Regions from separate parts of the Homo sapiens genome. Here regions 1 and 3 are each linked to region 2. The links are contacts of gene promoters, found by promoter capture Hi-C in blood cells and fetal thymus (Javierre and others, 2016). All regions are on one chromosome and are shown on one strand. Each heading gives the region's core, a stretch centred on a gene start or on the middle of the fragment in contact. The rest is flanking DNA. Distances are from core to core; before and after follow the strand shown.

Evidence for each region. The method cuts DNA at HindIII sites, captures the fragments that hold promoters and counts their contacts. A CHiCAGO score of 5 or more calls a contact.
Region 1: a contact is called between a fragment that was not itself captured here and the fragment with the promoter of APPL1 in region 2, in 2 of 17 cell types (naive B cells and megakaryocytes). The highest score is 5.6, in naive B cells.
Region 3: a fragment that was not itself captured here is called in contact with the fragment with the promoter of APPL1 in region 2 in 1 of 17 cell types (fetal thymus); the score reaches 6.2 in fetal thymus.

What each region holds. Positions count from the first base shown.
Region 1 is chr3:57,598,767-57,601,976 of GRCh38, reverse strand. It overlaps ARF4-AS1 (ARF4 antisense RNA 1), which reads right to left. Exons shown (of 2, transcript NR_132370.1): 2 at 1,061-1,234. It also overlaps a transcript of PDE12 not described here. Among named protein-coding and RNA genes, the nearest start is that of ARF4-AS1, 2.6 kb to the right of the region's middle. The HindIII fragment of the contact is 2,797 bases long and covers 277-3,073 here.
Region 2 is chr3:57,226,020-57,229,224 of GRCh38, reverse strand. APPL1 (adaptor protein, phosphotyrosine interacting with PH domain and leucine zipper 1) reads right to left here and starts at 1,496. Exons shown (of 22, transcript NM_012096.3): 1 at 1,288-1,496. The coding sequence starts at 1,341. It also overlaps a transcript of HESX1 not described here. RefSeq lists a silencer at 1,039-1,698. The HindIII fragment of the contact is 8,451 bases long and covers 1-3,205 here.
Region 3 is chr3:57,682,700-57,685,775 of GRCh38, reverse strand. All of the region lies in intron 1 of DENND6A (DENN domain containing 6A), which reads left to right. Among named protein-coding and RNA genes, the nearest start is that of DENND6A, 8.8 kb to the left of the region's middle. The HindIII fragment of the contact is 4,499 bases long and covers 1-3,076 here.

The DNA.
Region 1 (3,210 bases), core at 426-2,925, 370 kb before region 2:
TCAAGACCAGCCTGGTCAACACAGTGAAACCCCATCTCTACTAAAAATACAAAAAAAAAAAAAAATTAGCCGGGTGTGGTGGTGTGCACCTGTAGTCCCAGCTACTTGGGCAGCTGAGGCAGGAGAATCACCTGAACCCAGGAGGCAGAGATTGCAGTGAGCTGAGATAGCGCCACTGCACTCCAGCCTGGGTGACACAGCGAGACTGTCTCAAAAAAAAAAAAAAAAAAAAAGAAGGAAAGAAAAAAGGAAGAGATATGGTTTCCTTAATAAGCTTGCATTCTAATGAGACATAACAATCAGCAAAAATAATTATAGTTGTACCTGGGTATTTGGGGAGATTGGTTCCAGGATCCCCGTGATACCAAAATCTGCAGATGCTCAAGGCCCTTACAGTTGCCATTCTGCATCTGCAGGTTCCACATCTGCTATTGGCTGAATCTGTGGGTTTGAAACCTGAAGATACAGGGGGTCTGCTGTCTGTACATTATTAAACCCAAGGGACTGGAATGTAAATTCCATATACATATTTGTGACTAAAAAGATCTCACTAAGAAAAATAGTCAGAGGCTGGGCGCGGTGGCTCACACCTGTAATCCCAGCATTTTGGGAGGCCGAGGTGGGTGGACCACCTAGGTCAGGAGTTCGAGACCAGCCTGGCCAACATGGTGAAACCCCCTCTCTGCTAAAAATACAAAAATTAGCCGGGCGCAGTGGCATGTGCCTGTAATTCCAGCTACCCCGGAGGCTGATACAGGAGAATCGCTGGAACCCAGGAGGCAGAGGCTACAGTGAGCCAAGATCGCCCCACTGCACTCCAGCCTAGGTGACAGAGCAAAAAAAAATAAAATAAAATAACCAGAGATGAGGAAAACATACTACCTAGTGTAGTATGTTATGAGTACATGCTTTTGAGCCTGGGCAACTTTATACAACACTGTGTTCAAAAGCGATGATTAAATGAAGTACATGGCTTAGCAAGTGATCAATAAACTATAGCAATTTTTCTTGTAGGGCTCAATTTCCTCATTTTTAAAAATAAGAAAGATTCTCTTCTGGGTTTGTATTGATGAAAGGTGAATAGAAAAATATTTTATTTTTAAAATATTTTTTAAAATAGAAATGGCATCTCACTATATTGCCAAGGCTGGTCTGGAACTTCTGGGCTCAAGTGAGTCTCCCATCTTGGCCTCCCAACATGCTGGGATTACAGGTGTGAGCCACCATGCCTGACCTAGAAAAATAAAATAAAATAAAAATAAATTTGGGGTCTGGGCACGGTGGCTCACACCTCTACTACCAACACTTTGGGAGGCCAAGGCGAGTAGATCGCCTGAGCTCAGCAGCTGGATACCAGCTTGGGCAACATGCTGGTCTCTACAAAACGCCAACTCTACCAAAAATACATAAAATAGCTGGGCATGGTGGAATATGTCTGTGGTCCCAGCTACTTGGGAGGCTGAGGCAGGAGGAAAAAGGGAGGGGAGGGGAAGGGAGAGGAGGGAAAAGGGAAGGGAAAAGGGAACAGAAGGGGGAAGGGAGGGGAAAAGGGAAAGGAAAGGAAGGGGAGGGAAGGATGAAGGAAAGAAAAGAAAGAGAAAGAAAGAAAAGAAAGGAAAGAAAGAAAAAGAAAAGAGAAAAGAAAAGAATTTGGCCGGGAACAGTGGCTCAGGCCCATAATCCCAGTACTTTGGGAGGCCAAGGCAGACAGATTGGTTGAGCTCAGGAGTTTGAGACCAGCCTTGGCAACATAGCAAAACCCTGTCTCTACAAAAAATAACACTACTTAGCCAATGTGGTGGTGTACCTGTAGTCCCAGCTACTTTGGGGGCTGAGGTGGGAGGATCACTTGATCCCAGGAGGTTGAGTAAGCCGAGATGATGCCACTGTACTTCAGCTTGGGTGACAAAGTGAGACCCTGTCTCAAATAAATAAATAAATAAATGTAAGAAGGTAGTATAGTGTAGTGGTTAAGAGTGTTAATGGCTGGGTGCACTGGCTCACACCTGTAATCCCAACACTTTGGAGGCTGAGGTGGAAGGATTGCTTGGGCCCAGGAGTTCCAGACAGGCCTGGGCAACATAGCCAGAATCCACTTATTTATTAAAAAAAAAAAAAAAAAAAGAGTGTAAATACCAGTTAATACCAGAAGAAATGGGTTCTTATAGCTGTTCCACTGCTTTTAGCTGTGTGACCTTGGGCAGAATATTTAATCTCTCTGACCCTGATTATTTTTATCTGTACAATAGAGATATTACAGTCTGCCATTAACATCCTGTTTTGTAATTTACATTAGCCACTTGATGTGTAGTGTATTCTTACTGAAAAATCTGTTTTGACAACTTTTGTTTTGGTTCAGGTTTTGGAGGCTAGAGATGGAGAACAGAATTCTTTCGATTTATTTTGCATAACTAAACAGAAAACATGGATTAAGATTTGGAATAAGTTACAGGGAGGAGGGCTCATACGGTTTGTCTTTTGAATTTAAGAAGACCCTAAGAATTAGTTGAAGATTGTTTTAAGGAATTCTACTATATAAAACTAAAAACAGACATAAGGCCTAAAGTGTGAAAGGAAAATAAATCTTGGGGCCTCCACCTCACTAAGCTAAAGAGAAAAGTCAAGCTGGGAACTGCTTAGGGCCAACCTGCCTCCCATTCTTTAAAAAGTCACCCCTCTGCTCACTGAGATAAACGCATATCTGACTGCCTCCTTTGGAGAGGCTAATCAGAAACTCAAAGGAATGCAACCATTTGTCTCTTATCTATCTATGCCCTGGAAGCTCCCTCCCCACTCAGAGTCTTCCTGCCTTTGCTTTGAGTTGTCCAGTCTTTCCAGAATGAACCAATGTTCATCTTACATATATTGATTGATGTCTCATTTCTCCCTAGAATGTATAAAACCAAACCGTGCTCTGATCACCTTGGGCACATGTCTACAAGACCTCCTGAGGCTATGTCATGGACGCGTGTCCTCAACTTTGGCAAAATTAACTTTCTAAATTAACTGAGGCCTGTCTCATATTTTGGGGGTTCACAAAAGGATACAAGAAGGTCTTGTCACTTAGCAAGCTTCCAAAATGCAATTTTGAGTTATTCAACTGCTAAGCAACTCTTTACATGTATCTCCAATGCAAAGGAGGGTACTTCTGAGTAAAGAAGTTTTTGGGGTTTTTTTGTTGTTGTTGTTTGTTTTTTTAAGACAGTCTCG
Region 2 (3,205 bases), core at 247-2,746:
ATCTGAAACAAATACAGTTTATAACTTTATATGGAGAAATCATCAAGAAAAAAATTGAACCGAGTATACTGGCAGTCAAGATAAACCAAATGTGAGTTTCTCTTTTTGTCACTATCAGCTGTTAAGAGTACATTAGCAGCAGGCAACTGGCCTGTGAAGATAACTTTCAGAATAAAAAAGAACAAATCAATTCTACAATCAGAGCCCCATTTCAACTTGGCAATTAACATTGGCACAAAATCCATGGCAGAAGTGCCATCCAGGAAAAGGAGATCTAGACCTCTTCTGCTTTTCTTCTTTGGGGGCCATGTTCAACTGTAAAGACACACGAAATGGTGCAACTGCATTTCTAAATCAGCAACAATTCAGAAATGTTTCATTCTAAATAGTGTCCAACCAGCAACACCGTCTTAAACCGTTTAAATTATCGTGTAAAACGGCTTAGAGATGAAGTTTTCCCTATGCAAGTTACAGCCCCTGCCAACATTTTAAAAAATATAGCTGCTTTCATTCTGCAGTACTGAAAACATATTAAATGGTTACATTTTCCAAAACTGTCTTAAGCTAGAGCAACCACATCAGCATCATTCCGACGCACAGAACACAGGGCTTTTATTTTGATGAGTTTATTAAGGCCAAGTCTGCAGGGAGCAGCGCAGCAGTCGCGGAGCGGCGAAGGCACCGTCCATCCCTCGCCGTGCACAGCTCGAGTGACAGCGACCACAGTCACGGCCGCGACACGGGCACATTCGGCGGGGAGAGCGGTCTTGGGCTCCGGGACCCGTCACGGGCTTTGCCATTAGGGCTCCACACACAACCTTACAGCCTCTCCCAAAGAAAAACGATCCATTTCCTTCCTTAGCTTGCTGAGCCTCGGAAATCATTAAATAAGACTATCGGGGTTTCTCTCCCTTCTGCAATTTTTCTGAAGAGGTTCTCAGGGAGAAAATTCCAGGATCGAGATTTGGCACCTCACATCACCGCGATAAAAACGGCGCCTTTCGTCAAATAAAAAGGACCCGCGCGCGTACGTGACCGCCCGGCCCACGAGCACCAGCGGCTCGGTCTCCGCCTGCGGCCCTCGGCCCAGCCGAGCAGGCCCACGCGGGCCTTGGGCGGCGGGCCCAGCCTCCACAACTCCGGGCGCGGCCTGCGACGGGCGGTGACCTAGGGCGGCGGCGGCCCCCACCTGGGCCGGGGCGGGCACCTGCGGGAGCCGCGGAGGCGCCAGACCTGGGGTCGGCCAGCTGGGCTCTCCCTCGTCGCCCACCAGCTCCCGCGCCTCACCTGCGGGCTGTCCTCCAGCGTCTCCTCGATGGGCAGCTTGTCGATCCCCGGCATCGTGGCGGAGGGAGGGCGGTGGCAGGAGACGCAGCTGCCGCCCACAGCTCCCCGCGCCGGCCCGCCCGCCGCAGCTGACCCCGGCCCGCCCTCTCCGGCAAGGGCTGCAGCCGTCCCCGCCCGCACAGCCTTCTCCAGGCGCCGAGCGGCCGTGCGGGAAATCCCGCCCCCTCGGCCTCCCTGCCCCGCCTCCCGGCGCGTCCATTGGCTCCCGGGGACGCCCATCCGCGCTGCGGCGGTGGTCGGGAGGTTCCCGTGCGGCGCTAGGCTCTCCCGCGAGCGCGGGCGTCGGAAGCGGCGGAGGTGGCAGTGTCTGCCCTGGGATGGCCTTCCCTGCACGCGCGCGTTTGTATCTAAATCGCAGGGGACCGTCTCTTCCTCAGCTTGCCGGCGCGAGGAGCCAGAGCCTCGAGTTAGGGCCACACGGGGGAATTTGGGGCGGGTTGACTTTTCCCGCAACATATTTTGTCAGAGACCTTGGAGAAAGTCCTACTGCTGGCGCCTTTTAGTTTCCTCAGATGATAACATTCCCAACTCCGCTCGAAGCGTCCAGTCTTAATCCCCTCCAGCAGAATGGTGCTGACTAACTCAGATGTCTGAGATCCGCAGCTGTGTCAATAATAGGGCTTTCTGGCAAACTTGTGAACGTAGGCTCGAAATTGTTTTTCTGGACGCTTGAATATCAGTATATTCAGTTGAAAACATGTGATTTTGTTGCCAGTTTATCAGTTCCTACCTGGCCTCCCGAGGTCAGTCCTTCAGGACTGACGCTGCAACTCCAACTCCCATGTTTCTTTTAAATCACAAAGGAAAATATCTTTTAAAAATCAGGATACACTGATTAATTATGTTAGTAACTAATTGGCATTTGTTGAATCAAAAAGTTTTGGAAGCGTTAAATAGTTTTAGCCTCTAATTTTACAATAAAGTGAAGCTCAAAGTTGGGAATTTGACCGGATGAGGGCTACAAGCCTATCCTTTCCTCCTCCCTCTTCATCTTTCCCAACCTGTCACCCTGGCTCGTTTATGTCTCTGTATAGTTGTAGGCTTTCATCATTATACAGAGAAAATAACAAAGTAAGTAGTGTCTTCTAAACATCTAGCCATTAATTCCACCAATCCATTCCATTTTCATTCAAGAAATACCAGAGATGCTGAGTAAAGATTAATTAGCTGCCTGGTTCCACAGATACATGGGAACAAATCCAGAATAGTAGTAGCTCAAATCCAAATATAGTAACAAATAGAAGTTATATATTTTAAACGAAAATAGTAGATTTTCCCATGATCTCTTGAAAGAAAAATAAAATTATATTTTTAAAGTTTTGTTGAGTAGACTTGCATTGTAGTTTTACGGAATTATTTTTAGTGTTACAATCTTTAAAAGTTTTCCCCTTAGATTGTTTATCAGCCAGTCTCTCTCTCCCGAAGAGTTCTTTAGTTTTTGAGGAAGTTGATTTGGAGGCAGTTCTTACAATGAGTTAAGGGTTCCCAGTTGTGTTACAGTTTCTTTTTCCTTGATATCTCATTTCTACTCTGCCAACAAGAACACCATGCACCCCAGCTCTAAAGAAGGAAGACTTTCAAGGTAAGTGACCTTCCTGATTGAACTGAGTTAGATTTTAAATGAAGAAAGGTTGTGGCAACTGTTAAGAATCAGGAGTAAGTGAGGAGTGTAAACAATGTATAAGAAAGAAAAAAAAAAAGGCCTGGCGCTGTGGCTCACGCCTGTAATCCCAGCAATTTGGGAGGCCGTGGCAGCTGGATCACCTGAGGTCAGGAGTTCAAGACCAGCCTGCCCAACATGGCGAAACCCAGTCTCTACTAACAATACAAAAATTAGCCGGGCGTGGTGGCGTGCCTG
Region 3 (3,076 bases), core at 459-2,958, 460 kb before region 2:
CCAAGAGCAAACATTAAAGAAAAACAAATTTTTTTTTAAAAAAAAAGAATGAATGCTGAAGCAGATATGAGAATCTAGTTATTTCTGTTAAATCAGACATTAAAGATATTTGCAAACATGTAAACAATGCCATCTTAGTAAGGTTTTTGTTTTGTTTAGGAATACAGGTTGTGTGTTCCTAATCTAAACATTCAAAATCTGAGACGCTCCAAAACCTGAAACTTTCTGAGTACTGACATGATGCTTTTTAAAGGAAATGCTCATTGGAGCATTTTGGATTTCAGGTTTTTGGATTTGGGATGTCCAACTGAGTAAGTATAATTCAAATATTCTAGAATCTGAAAAGATCTGAGATCCAAAACACTTCTGATCCCACCAAGCATTTTGGATAAGGAATACTCAACCTGAATATAGTTACTTTTCATAAAAATTGAATATGTTAATGAGTAATAGGTTATTATTTTAAAATAAATAAACAATTTTTTTTAATGATACTTTTAGTTTCTACAGTGGTGAATGTTGATAGATATAACTCATATAAACAAGAATTCTAGGCTGGACGTGGTGGCTCACGCCTGTAATCCCAGCACTTTGGGAGGCAGAGGCAGGCAGATCTGCTGAGGTCAGGAGTTCGAGACTAGCTTGGCCAACGTGGTGAAACCCATCTCTACTAAAAATACAAAAAAAAAAAAAAATTAGCCAGGCATGGTGGCGCATACCTGTAATCCCAGCTACTCTGGAGGCTGAGGCAGGAGGATCACTTGAACCAGGGAGGCGGAGGTTGCAGTGAGCCGAGACTGTGCCATTGCACTCCAGGTGTGTGCCACCATGCCTGATTAAATTGTTTTATTTTTGTGTTGCCCAGTGTGATCTTGAACTCCTGGACTCAAGGGAACCTCCTGCCTCCACCTCCCAAAGTGTTGAGATCCCAGGCATGAGCCATTGTACCCAGCCTCATTTATTCCTTTCCGTCACTAATTATTAAGTAATATTTGGACTTTATTTATTTATTTGAGACAGGGTCATGCTGTGTCACCAGGCTACAGTGCACTGCAGCCTGGACCTCCCAGGCTCAAGCAATTCTCTCACCTCAGCCTGTCAAGTAGCTGGACTACAGGTGTGTACCAACATGCCTGGCTACTTTTTTGTTTTTTTGTAGAAACAGGGTTTTGCTGTGTTGCCCAGACTGGTCTTGAACTCCTGGCCTCAAGTGATCTGCCTGCCTCAGCCTCCCACAGTCCACCTGCCTTAGCCTTCCAAAGTGCTGGGATTATAGGCATGAGCCACCATGCCTGGCTTTAGACTCTTTTCTTGAAACAGAGTCTCGCTTTGTCACCCAGGCTAGAGTGCAGTGGCACGATCTCAGCTCACCGCAACCTCTGATTCCCAAGTTCCAGCGATTCTCCTGCCTCAGCCTCCTAAGTAGCTGGGATTACAGGCACGTGCCACCGCACCCAGCTAATTTTTGTATTTTTAGTAGAGACGACGGGGTTTCACCATGTTGGTCAGGCCGGTCTCAAACTCCTGACCTCGTGATCTGCCCACCTTGGCCTCCCAAGGTGCTGGGATTACAGGCATGGGCCACCGTGCCTGGCCCATAAACTCTTTTTTTTTTTTTTTTTTTGAGACGGAGTCTCACTCTGTCACCCAGGCTGGAGTGCAGTGGCACAATCTTGGCTCGCTGCAACCTCCACCTTCTGGGTTCAAGCAATTCTCTGCCTCAGCCTCCTGAGTAGCTGGGATTACAGGTGCCCACCACCACACCGGGCTAATTTTTGTATTTTTAGTAGAGATGGGGTTTCACCATCTTGGCTAGACTGGTCTTGAACTCCTGACCTTGTGATCCACCCGCTGCGGCCTCCCAAAGTGCTGAAATTACAGGCATGAGCTAAACACTTTTTAAATAAGGGAACTGGAACTTAAAGAGGTAACTTGCCCCATATCACTTGCTTAATAAGCCAGGATTTGAACCCTGGTCCTTTTGATTCTGAAGCCTAATTTCCCCCCACTATACTGTGTTGTTTACTATTTAGGGAAACTGAAGCAAAGAAGATGTGAAATGCTAGCGGTAGCTTGAACTAAAATTCTTAAATTCTTGGTAGTAATAGTTTACCTCATTTCTCAAAGTGTTCCTGTTTACATGCTAATACTCAGTGTAATAATAGTACCCAGGGCTATTTTCTGAGTTGTATGAACTGCTTTTAGCATTTTTGTGATCCTTTAGTTGGCAAAATGCTTTACCGTCCTGTGGAATGCACAGTAGATACTTGCTTCTGTTTGGACAAAAGACCAGCGTGACCTATGTCAATGACATAAAGTTGGATTTCCTGAAGGTAGGGTTTCTAACTGATAATAGTTTATAGCCATGGGCAGATGAAGTGAGATGATAATAGTTCTCATTTCTAGTGTATTGTGAGGATTAATTGATACAATACAGTGCCTGGCACAAGGAAAACACTTGATAAAGTTAGCAATTGTAATTATTTATTGAGTTTTTCTGAAATAATGAAATAATTACTCTTTTGGTCTAGTTTATTTGAATTCTATCTGTATTACTCATTTAGTGAATTCCTACCTAACCTTAAGCGTCCTTTGTAAGTAATACAGGATCAGTATGAGGGTAGCATCATTAAATTTTTGTTGGTACCTATTATAATAGGAGCACTGGGACCATTTGCATAGGCCATAATAAGTACCTAACATGCACAAAGGATTCTATTATGTTAATCAGTAGATGAAGACATGAGAATCCCTGCTCTCCAGAATTTAACTGAAGAGACAAGTAAGAGCATATAGTCGGCCAGGTGTGCTGGCTCATGCCTGTAGTCCCAGCACTTTGGGAGGCTGAGGTGGGTGGATCACTTGAGGTCAGGAGTCCGAGACCAGCCTGGCCAACATGGCGAAACTCCGTCTCTACTGAAAATACAAAAAAATTAGCCGGGCGGGATGTTGCACACCTGTAATCCCAGTTACTTGAGTGGCTGAGGCAGCAGAATCGCTTGAACTTGGGAGTTGGAGGTTGCAGTGAGCTGAGATCATGCCACTGCTCTCCAGCCTGGGTGACAAAGCCAGACTC